3 separate regions of the Homo sapiens genome follow, and regions 2 and 3 are each linked to region 1. Evidence: promoter capture Hi-C in human tissues and cell types (Jung and others, 2019). All regions are on one chromosome and are shown on one strand. Each heading gives the region's core, a stretch centred on a gene start or on the middle of the fragment in contact. The rest is flanking DNA. Distances are from core to core; before and after follow the strand shown.

Region 1 (2,700 bases), core at 141-2,640:
TGTTCTGTTGGGCACTCGGCTCTGTCTCCTGGACTAGCTCTGTGATGAGAGTTGCAAAGTAGGGGATAATGGAGATGATGTCAATGATGTTCATGATGTTCCTGAAGAAGTCAGTCTTGCTGGGGCAGACCACGAACCGGAGCACCAGCTCGAAGGTGAACCACACGATGCAGGTAGACTCCACCATGAAGAAAGGGTCGGTGAACATGGTCTGGGAGAGGACTGTCTTGCTCATGTTGAGATTGGGGTCTCTGACCACCTTTAGCTCCCTATCCTCCCGGAACTCTGGCAGTGTCTCCAGGCAGAAGATGGTGATGGAGATGACCACAACCAACACCGAGACCACGGCCACAGCACGGGCAGCGCTGGAACTTTCAGGGTACTCAAAGAGGAGCCAGAACTGACGGTGGATGTCATTGGTGGGTAGCAGTGTTTCAGGGTCTTTGATGAAGCCTTCATCCTCCCGGAACTGGTCCATGGCCTCACTACCCAGCTCATAGAAGGAGATTTCATCAGCAAAGATATCAATGGGAACATTGGCTGGGCGCCGAATTTTCCCACCAGATTGGTAATAATATAGGATTCCATCAAAACTGGGCCGGTTCCGATCAAAGAAATACTCATTTCTCATGGAGTCAAAGAACTGCATCCTTTTTTCCCGGTCTCCCAGGAGAGTCTCTGGGAACTGACTAAGGGTTCTGAGCTGGGTCTCAAATCTCAGCCCAGCAATGTTGATGATCACCCGCTGGTTTCCTTCATTTAGGACCACTGGCTCAGGCCCTGGGGGGTCAGCATAGTCTCCCGGAAGCTTGGAGAAGGCCGTCTCATGGTTGGTGCTTTCGCTGATGAGGATCTTCCCGTTGGAGAAGGAGCTGCCCCCAGGCCGGCCTTTTGGGCTGGTTGAGTCGAAGTCTGTGGCATAGCCTGGCTCTTCTTGGATTTCATCTGAATTATCAAAATTGACCAGCGCAACCTCCATTTCTTTCCAGCCACACACATCCATTCTAGGGGAGCCAGGGAAGAAGCATGAAGATCCTCAGCCTTCACTGCCTGCTGTGAGCTATGGAGAAGAAGAAGTTCATTATACAAGATCCAGGGCAGAATACAACTGGCCCTTGTTTATTGAGGTAAGGTACACCAATGGGCTAATCAATGACTTATTTGTAGCTTGGGAAGGAACGTCATGGTTATTTTGGCAGCATGCTTCCCTTAAAATCATTTTGTACCCCTGAGTTTGCATAAACTAATAACTAGGAGAAATTGCAAAAAAAGGATCCTGGCAAAGAAGGGGAGATTCTCCCCAGCAAAGGATGGTCTCCATATGTGATGGCAGAGGGGCCATACTAAAAGAGGAAGTTAACATTCCTTAATAATAAAAAGCATGATCTTGTATTTGCATGAAGCCTTCTGTCTCACCAAACACGTCTCCATGCCCAATCTCATTCGTAATGCCTCTCTTTCACACCAACAGCCAGTCCCTCACACATCCTTTTGGTCATGTCTTCAAAATATATCTAGAATTCAACCATTTTGCATCACTTCCACCCCTGCTTCTGGACCAAGTGGTGAAGGGTGGAACCAGATCTATGAACCCAATGGGGATTCTTTAGGGAAGGAAAAACAAGACGCTGGGTTGGCCAATCGACAATGTCCTCTAAATGACCCCTCACCTGGAAATAACTCCTAGAGTTGTTTTGAAGGTACCTCAAATGAGATAACACGTATGGAATGCTTGGTGGAAAGAAAGATCACTATATTATAGCTATTGTTTTTTGTCAACTTTCCCACATAACAAGCACTTTAGAAACTACCAGCAATTGGAATTTTTTTTGGCCTGAGTCCAAGGTGTCCATAGGAAGTAATTTCATTTTGAGAAATCATTTTAGGTGGGAAGGAAGTAAATAATTGTGTGTGTCTGTGTGTGTGTGTGTATATGTGTGTGTGTGTGTGTGTGTGTGCGCGCGCACGCTGGAGGTGGGGTTAGGAAATCATGCCCAGTGGGCTTGGACATCTATACACATAGACTAATATTTCTTTCCTCAGGTTCATTCTAGCTTCAGTTTCAATTTAAGAACACTGAACCCAGGCAGGCTGGGGGTGGGAGTGGGAGAGAAGTAAGGGACTTAACCTCAGGCAAAATCTGTAGTGGTCACAGCCTTGGAGAGGTTTCCTTTACAGGCGACAAGGCTATCCTGCAGTGTAGTGTTGTAGTCTTTTCAAAGTGATTCCACATTCACTTATCTCACTAGATGACAATAATCACGTGAGGTTAGATGTTATCTCTGTTTTGCAGATGCGGAAACCAAGTCACAGGGACAAAGTGACTTCCTAAGGTCACATAACTAGTGCTACAGAGTCCTGACCTAAACCTGGCCATGGCCTTCTGGCCCAGGGCCTTTCCCACTAGACCATGGAGTCCCTATATAGGAGCTGAGCCTTGTGGGGAGCTGTAGGCTAGGGCCACAGAATTGTCAGGGGTCCAGAGCTCTTTCCATCCCATGACCCCTTTTCTCAGTTCAGGTGCCATGTGTTGAATGATGAGCTCAAGTCTGGTTGGTCAGCACTGGTAGAGTACCCATTCTACCTCTCAGGAGTATGTGGCCATTGCAAACGGCCTAATTTCACGGAGCTGCTGCTTCCTCAGTTGTGGAATGAGGAAGGATGTACCCACTGCCAAGCATGCCAGGTGCCAGCCTGCTC
Region 2 (2,700 bases), core at 23-2,522, 68 kb after region 1:
AGTCTGGACTGGACTTTTGGACTTTTCTTGGGCTCCAGGTAGCCAGTGACAGGGCCAGCCAGGCCTGCTGGATGGGACCCAGGGCATGGTGTGAGGCCAACTCCCTCTGACAAGCCCAGGAGCTACACCCCAGGGGCTGGCCAAGCTGAGGCCCAGGGGCACTCCTTCTGGCAGGGCAGCTGGTTGGATTGATCTTGTAATTAAGTCAGGGCCAGGCCTGCCTACTTGGGCCCTTGCCCTTGGCTCCCAGGACGGGCCAGAATTTGTTGCTGAGGGCAGAGGGTTTATGCTTGGGTGGGGCTCAGACCTAAAACTTGGAGTCATGCTGGATGCCTTTGTCTTTCTTACATTGCATACTCAGTTCACCAGCAAATCCCATTGCTTCTGCCTTTAGTGTGTATCCAAAGTCCAACTGCTTCTCCCCAACTTCTCTGCTGCAACCATCCCAGCCTCCGTGCTCCTTGCTTGAATGATTGCAGTCTCCTTCTCACTGGGCCCCAGACTCTATCCTTGCCCCCTAGAGTCTGTTCAAAACAGCAGCTGAGGTGATCTGAAAACAATATGTCCAGTTAAGTTTCTCCTATGCTGAAAAGCCTCCTATGGCTTCCCACCTTACCCAGAGCAGAGTCCAGAGTCCTACAAGGTCCTATACAATCTGCAAGTCCCCTTCCCAACCTTACTCTTTAATTTCCCATTGTCTTCCCCCTTGCTTCTTCTGCTCCTGCAGCACTGGCCTCAATGCATGCCCTCTTCCACCTCGCCTCACTGACTGTGCCCTTGCACTCCCTGAGCATGGAATGATCTTCTCACATGAATCTGTATGGCCAACTCTCTGACTTCCTAAAGGTCTCTGCTTAGATGTCACCTTATCCAAGAGACCTTCCCTGCCCACCCTGCATAAAAGTGCACCGCCTACTGTCACTCTTCATCTCCCAATCTTGCTTTGATTTTATTAATAGTATTTTCTTTCTCACTTATCCCCCACCAGAAAGTCAAGTCCATGAAAGCAGGAGCTCTGACTGTTTTGTTTACAGATATATATTCCCCAATAGCAAGGAAGGGGATACAATTCTTTGCATTCTATGCATTTGCATGAGGTGCTGGAACATAATAGGAGCTTAATTCATGGTGCCTGACTTAGTGCATCTCTCCCTTGCCAAATGCTGTGACCCTTGACTTCTTTGGAAGAAGAGCATGGTGCAGTTGGCTTGATTGGCAGTCGGCAGACTGGCATTTTAGTTGCCAATTCACTTGTGGCCTTAAGCAAGCCGCTGGCCTCCTCTGGACCTCAATCTTCTCACCTACAAAATAAGGCAATTGGTCTAGTTGATCTCCAAGACCCTTTCCAGACTGGACTAGCCAGGATTCTATTGCTCCCAACTTCCTCACCCCTTGCCTTATTCTTGGGAGGCAACTGTCACATAAGGAAGCATGGACCAGGTGACAAGAGACCCGAGTTCTTTTCTTCACTTCCAGCTATGTGTCCTTGGCAAGTTTCCATCCTCTCAGCACCTTGGTTTTCTTGTCTATAAACTGAGTGTTGTAATGCCTGACCCGACGGCTGCCACACAGATTTACTGTGAAGGTCAGTGGATAAGAAACTGCTTTGGAGTCTGGGTCATGAATAAGAGGGAGAGTTAGTAGCACGGGCTTTGCGGCCAGATAACCTGGGTTCAAATCCTGCCTTTGGAAGTTATGTACAACTTCCTCGCAAGTCAGGTAAGCTTCTCTGTGCCTCTGTTCTCCTGAGTATAATGTGGGGCTAATTAGGGCCTTAGACATAGGATGGTTGTAAGGATTGATAAACTTATTTAGAACAGGGCCTGGCATAGAGTATGTGCCATATATAAGCGTTTTCTTTTATTATTCATTCCTAGAATTACTCATTTATTTTGCAATCATTTATTAAAGGCTCCTGCCTATTTATGGGCTACTATTGGTTCAGGGTTCATTTCCTCCCCTCTCCCAATTAATTTTTTTCTACACCTTTCCTTTCTGATGGGGAGGAATGAAGAAGGAGGCTGGGGAAGAAGTTCAGACCCCCCGCTAGGCTTTCTCTGTCTGTCAGGAGCTGACGCCCAAAGGAAGACAGCTTTTTCAGGAACGTTTAATATAGCAATTGCTCATTCACACCTTGCAGCCTCATGAATCCCATTGACAAAAATACCCGAGGAGGGTGATCCCATTCCATTGTACCTCATAATCCCTAGACTTCCTTATCTTCCCCAGAATGCCTTGTTCCTATATTTTCCTGGAGTTTCAGGGGTAAGAGGTTGGGGAAACAGAGTCAGAGTCCTTGGCGATTTTTGCTGAAGTGTCCCTGTAAGGCTCAGCTGAGTGTTGACCCCACCAGGATGGTGGCTCTGGTTTCACGCCAAAGGCTTTGACAGTGTATTAGTCAGGGCTCTCCAGAGGGGTGGAACACTGGGATAAATATGAAAGGGAATTTATTAGGGGGAATTGGCTCACATAGTTGCTAAGGTGAAGTCCCAAGATAGGTTTTCTGCAAGCTGGAAGATGACAGAAGCCAGTAGTGTGGCTCCCAGAGAGGCTGGCAGCGTGTCTCAGTTCAACTCTGAAAGCCTCAGAACAAGGAGAGCAAAGAGTGCAGCCCCCAGTCTGAGGCCAAAGGCCCGAAAGCCCCTGGGAGGCCTCTGGTGCAAGTCCCAAATCCAAAAGCCCAAGAATCTGGAGTCTGAT
Region 3 (2,700 bases), core at 145-2,644, 120 kb after region 1:
GTGGCAGCTGCCTCTTCTGAATAAAGCAGATGCACTGTGGTTTTTCACAAGTGCTACTTCCTCCACCTTTCTTACATTTGCACAGTTTCGCTGATTCCCAGGTGTCTGCAGGTATTGTAGTTTGCAACCCTTTTCTAGTTAAGAACCCAGGGTTTGTAACCTGGCTTTGCCAATTTTAAGTTATTGTGACCTTAAAGAAAGGAGTCAATTTCTCTAAGCCACAGTTTCCTTATCTGAATATGAGAATAATAATAATACTTACCATGAGTTAAAGAACTCCTGGAAAATGGCTGGCAAGGAGGGAAGCACACCATGAGCGCTCACCAACTCTTAGCTGGTGAAATGCTGTCCAACAGTGGAGGAGGTAGCCTTGGGAGCTCTATCACCAATGCTGGGCCTGCAGAGGGGCTGCATGACCTGGTGGTAGCCAGGACTACAGAGGAGGGACAGCCACCAAGAACTCTGAAATAAGTGGGCCATGCAGCAGTACTCCTTGGGCCCTTCCCAATGACCAAGTCAAAGGTGTTGGTGTAGAGCTTCTCTTGATGCTCATTAAAATCAAATTTGAGGCCAGGTGTGGTAGCTCATGTCTGTAATCCCAGTGCTTTGGGAGACCAAGGCAGGCAGATTGCTTGAGCCCAGGAGTTTGAGACCAGCTTGTGCAACATGGCAAAACCCTGTCTCCACAAAAAAACAAACAAACAAACAAAAAAAAACCCCAAAAAAACAACAACCAAAAAAACCCCAAATTAGCCAGGCATGGTGGTCCATGCCTGTATTCCCAGCTTCTTGGGAGGCTGAGGTGGGAGGATTACCTGAGCCCAGGGAGGTCGAGACTGCAGTGAACCGTGATGGCACTTCTGCACTCCAGTGTGGGCAACACACTGTCTCAAAAATAAGTAAAATATTTTGTGTCTCAAAAATAAGTAAAATAAAATAAAAATAAAATAAAATTAGATTTGATCTGGAAAGAAATTTTGTAGAAAAGAATGTGTCACCTGGAGTAACCTACATCCAGAGTAACCTACATCCACTTGGGAGGCTGCAGTGTGCTCAGAGTGAGTTGGAGTTCCAGCCCTAGCTGATGGTGGGTGGGAGCATTCCCCTGCCCCTTCCTGCTCTGCTGCAGGGCTCCTTGGAGCTCACTGGCAGCATGTCCTCCCTTGGTAGCTGGATAGGCCCTTCAGTAGGCTCTGCAGGCTGAGCAGCCATGGGAGACAGCTAAACCCATACCCATACTTTGGCTCTGTGACAGAGTGGTCCAGCACTTCAGGACCTGCCTGGGTCCTGGGTCTGCCCCTGGGTGGGGCCTGGGTGGTATGGGTTCCCTTCGGGTGGTCTGGACTCAGCCTGATGAGACAGCCTTTGGTGGCTGGTTTCCATTGGCCCCTGAGAAGCCCTCTGCTGGAGCGGCATGGAGTGACTGAGAGAGTCAGTTCTGTGTCTTGAACTGTCATGTATTTTCTGGTTCTGGAAGCAGAATCTGCTTTATGTGCTTGAGATGCTGAGCCAAGGGCAGACACATCCTTATTCTCAGAGAGCCACTACAGGAGGGGAAGCAGGGGTCTACTGGCCGTGAGCACAGCAGTACATGCCGCATGTCTGCCAGACAGGCTGGGAAAAAGCTTGGGGGAGAGGGAGGGCTCACCAGGCCTGGAGGCTGCAGGAAGCCAGCCTCCTGGCCTCTGAGGATGGTGCTATGACACCAGTGCTGAGGACTGGTGGGTGCAGTGGGGTGAGTTGAATGAGCTGGGAATTCATGCTCTGAATCTATTTCCCCTGCTGCTTCTCCACTCCTCTATTCTCCCTCCCCTCTCCTCTTCGGCATTCACTGTAGCCTTGATACTTAAAATATCATCACAGCCAGTGAGCAGCTGTCAATGACCGGTCCCCTTACCTCAGCACTAGGTGGTGCTTGTATCTCCCTTCTGGCTGGCTGAGGAAGCTGGGCAGCAGGAGGCAGATGCTGGTTCAGAGCCCCTCTTCTTGCAGAATCATTAGGCAAAGCTCCCAGCAGCCTGACTTATGCAGATGTCAGAGCTCAGGCTTTGGTTCTTGTGCTTGAGCTAATTGGCATCTTTGGAGAAGCTTTTCAGCCTCTGGCCTGTGGGCACCTGTCCCTGAGGGGTGGCCCATCATTCAGCCTTGGTCTTTGCATTAGGCCTGTATAGCTACCGAGTTTTCACCCCAAGCCATGTCTGATGGCCTTTGGCTGGAATCTGGGATGGTAGAAAGCTGTTGAGACAGTTGAGTCTAAATTAAATATTAGATCTGGGTGGGTTTCACATATTTCATAGCATAACTTTGTTGGGATATTTATTTGCTCTTCTCCTGGTTCTCGCAATTTAATAATTGAGTAAAATCCGTTTTGACATTCAGCACTGATTTGCTTACATTCTGCTGAAGTGCACCTGCTCTGTGAGAGAGTGGGTGTGTGTCAGGAGGCTGGGAGAAGTGGGGGCAGACAACAGAAGCTTCAAATGAGAGACATGGCTTGGGCACTGACTTTATATGTGAAAATGTGATTCAGCCTTAAACTTGTGGGTCGCTTGCTAGATGACAAGCGCTAGATCAGACTCCAGTGGGAGAGTAAAATCATGGAAGATACCGTCTTCTTCCAGGAAGCTTGTGTTGGGGAAATAACGTCAAACACAACAACACCAGCTAAAGAGCAGAGTGCAAAGACAGGTGGCTCTCCCC

Evidence for each region. The method cuts DNA at HindIII sites, captures the fragments that hold promoters and counts their contacts. A contact is called where the count stands out against the background at its distance.
Region 2: a contact is called between a fragment that was not itself captured here and the fragment with the promoter of KCNA10 in region 1, in 4 of the 25 tissues and cell types used here (IMR-90 fibroblasts, dorsolateral prefrontal cortex, spleen and 1 more).
Region 3: a contact is called between a fragment that was not itself captured here and the fragment with the promoter of KCNA10 in region 1, in 2 of the 25 tissues and cell types used here (dorsolateral prefrontal cortex and thymus).

What each region holds. Positions count from the first base shown.
Region 1 is chr1:110,517,785-110,520,484 of GRCh38, forward strand. It overlaps KCNA10 (potassium voltage-gated channel subfamily A member 10), which reads right to left and starts at 1,391. Exons shown (of 1, transcript NM_005549.2): 1 at 1-1,391. The coding sequence starts at 1,003. The HindIII fragment of the contact is 7,025 bases long and covers 1-2,700 here.
Region 2 is chr1:110,585,473-110,588,172 of GRCh38, forward strand. No RefSeq gene overlaps it. Among named protein-coding and RNA genes, the nearest start is that of KCNA2, 20 kb to the right of the region's middle. The HindIII fragment of the contact is 7,567 bases long and covers 1-2,700 here.
Region 3 is chr1:110,636,298-110,638,997 of GRCh38, forward strand. No RefSeq gene overlaps it. Among named protein-coding and RNA genes, the nearest start is that of KCNA2, 31 kb to the left of the region's middle. The HindIII fragment of the contact is 3,377 bases long and covers 1-2,700 here.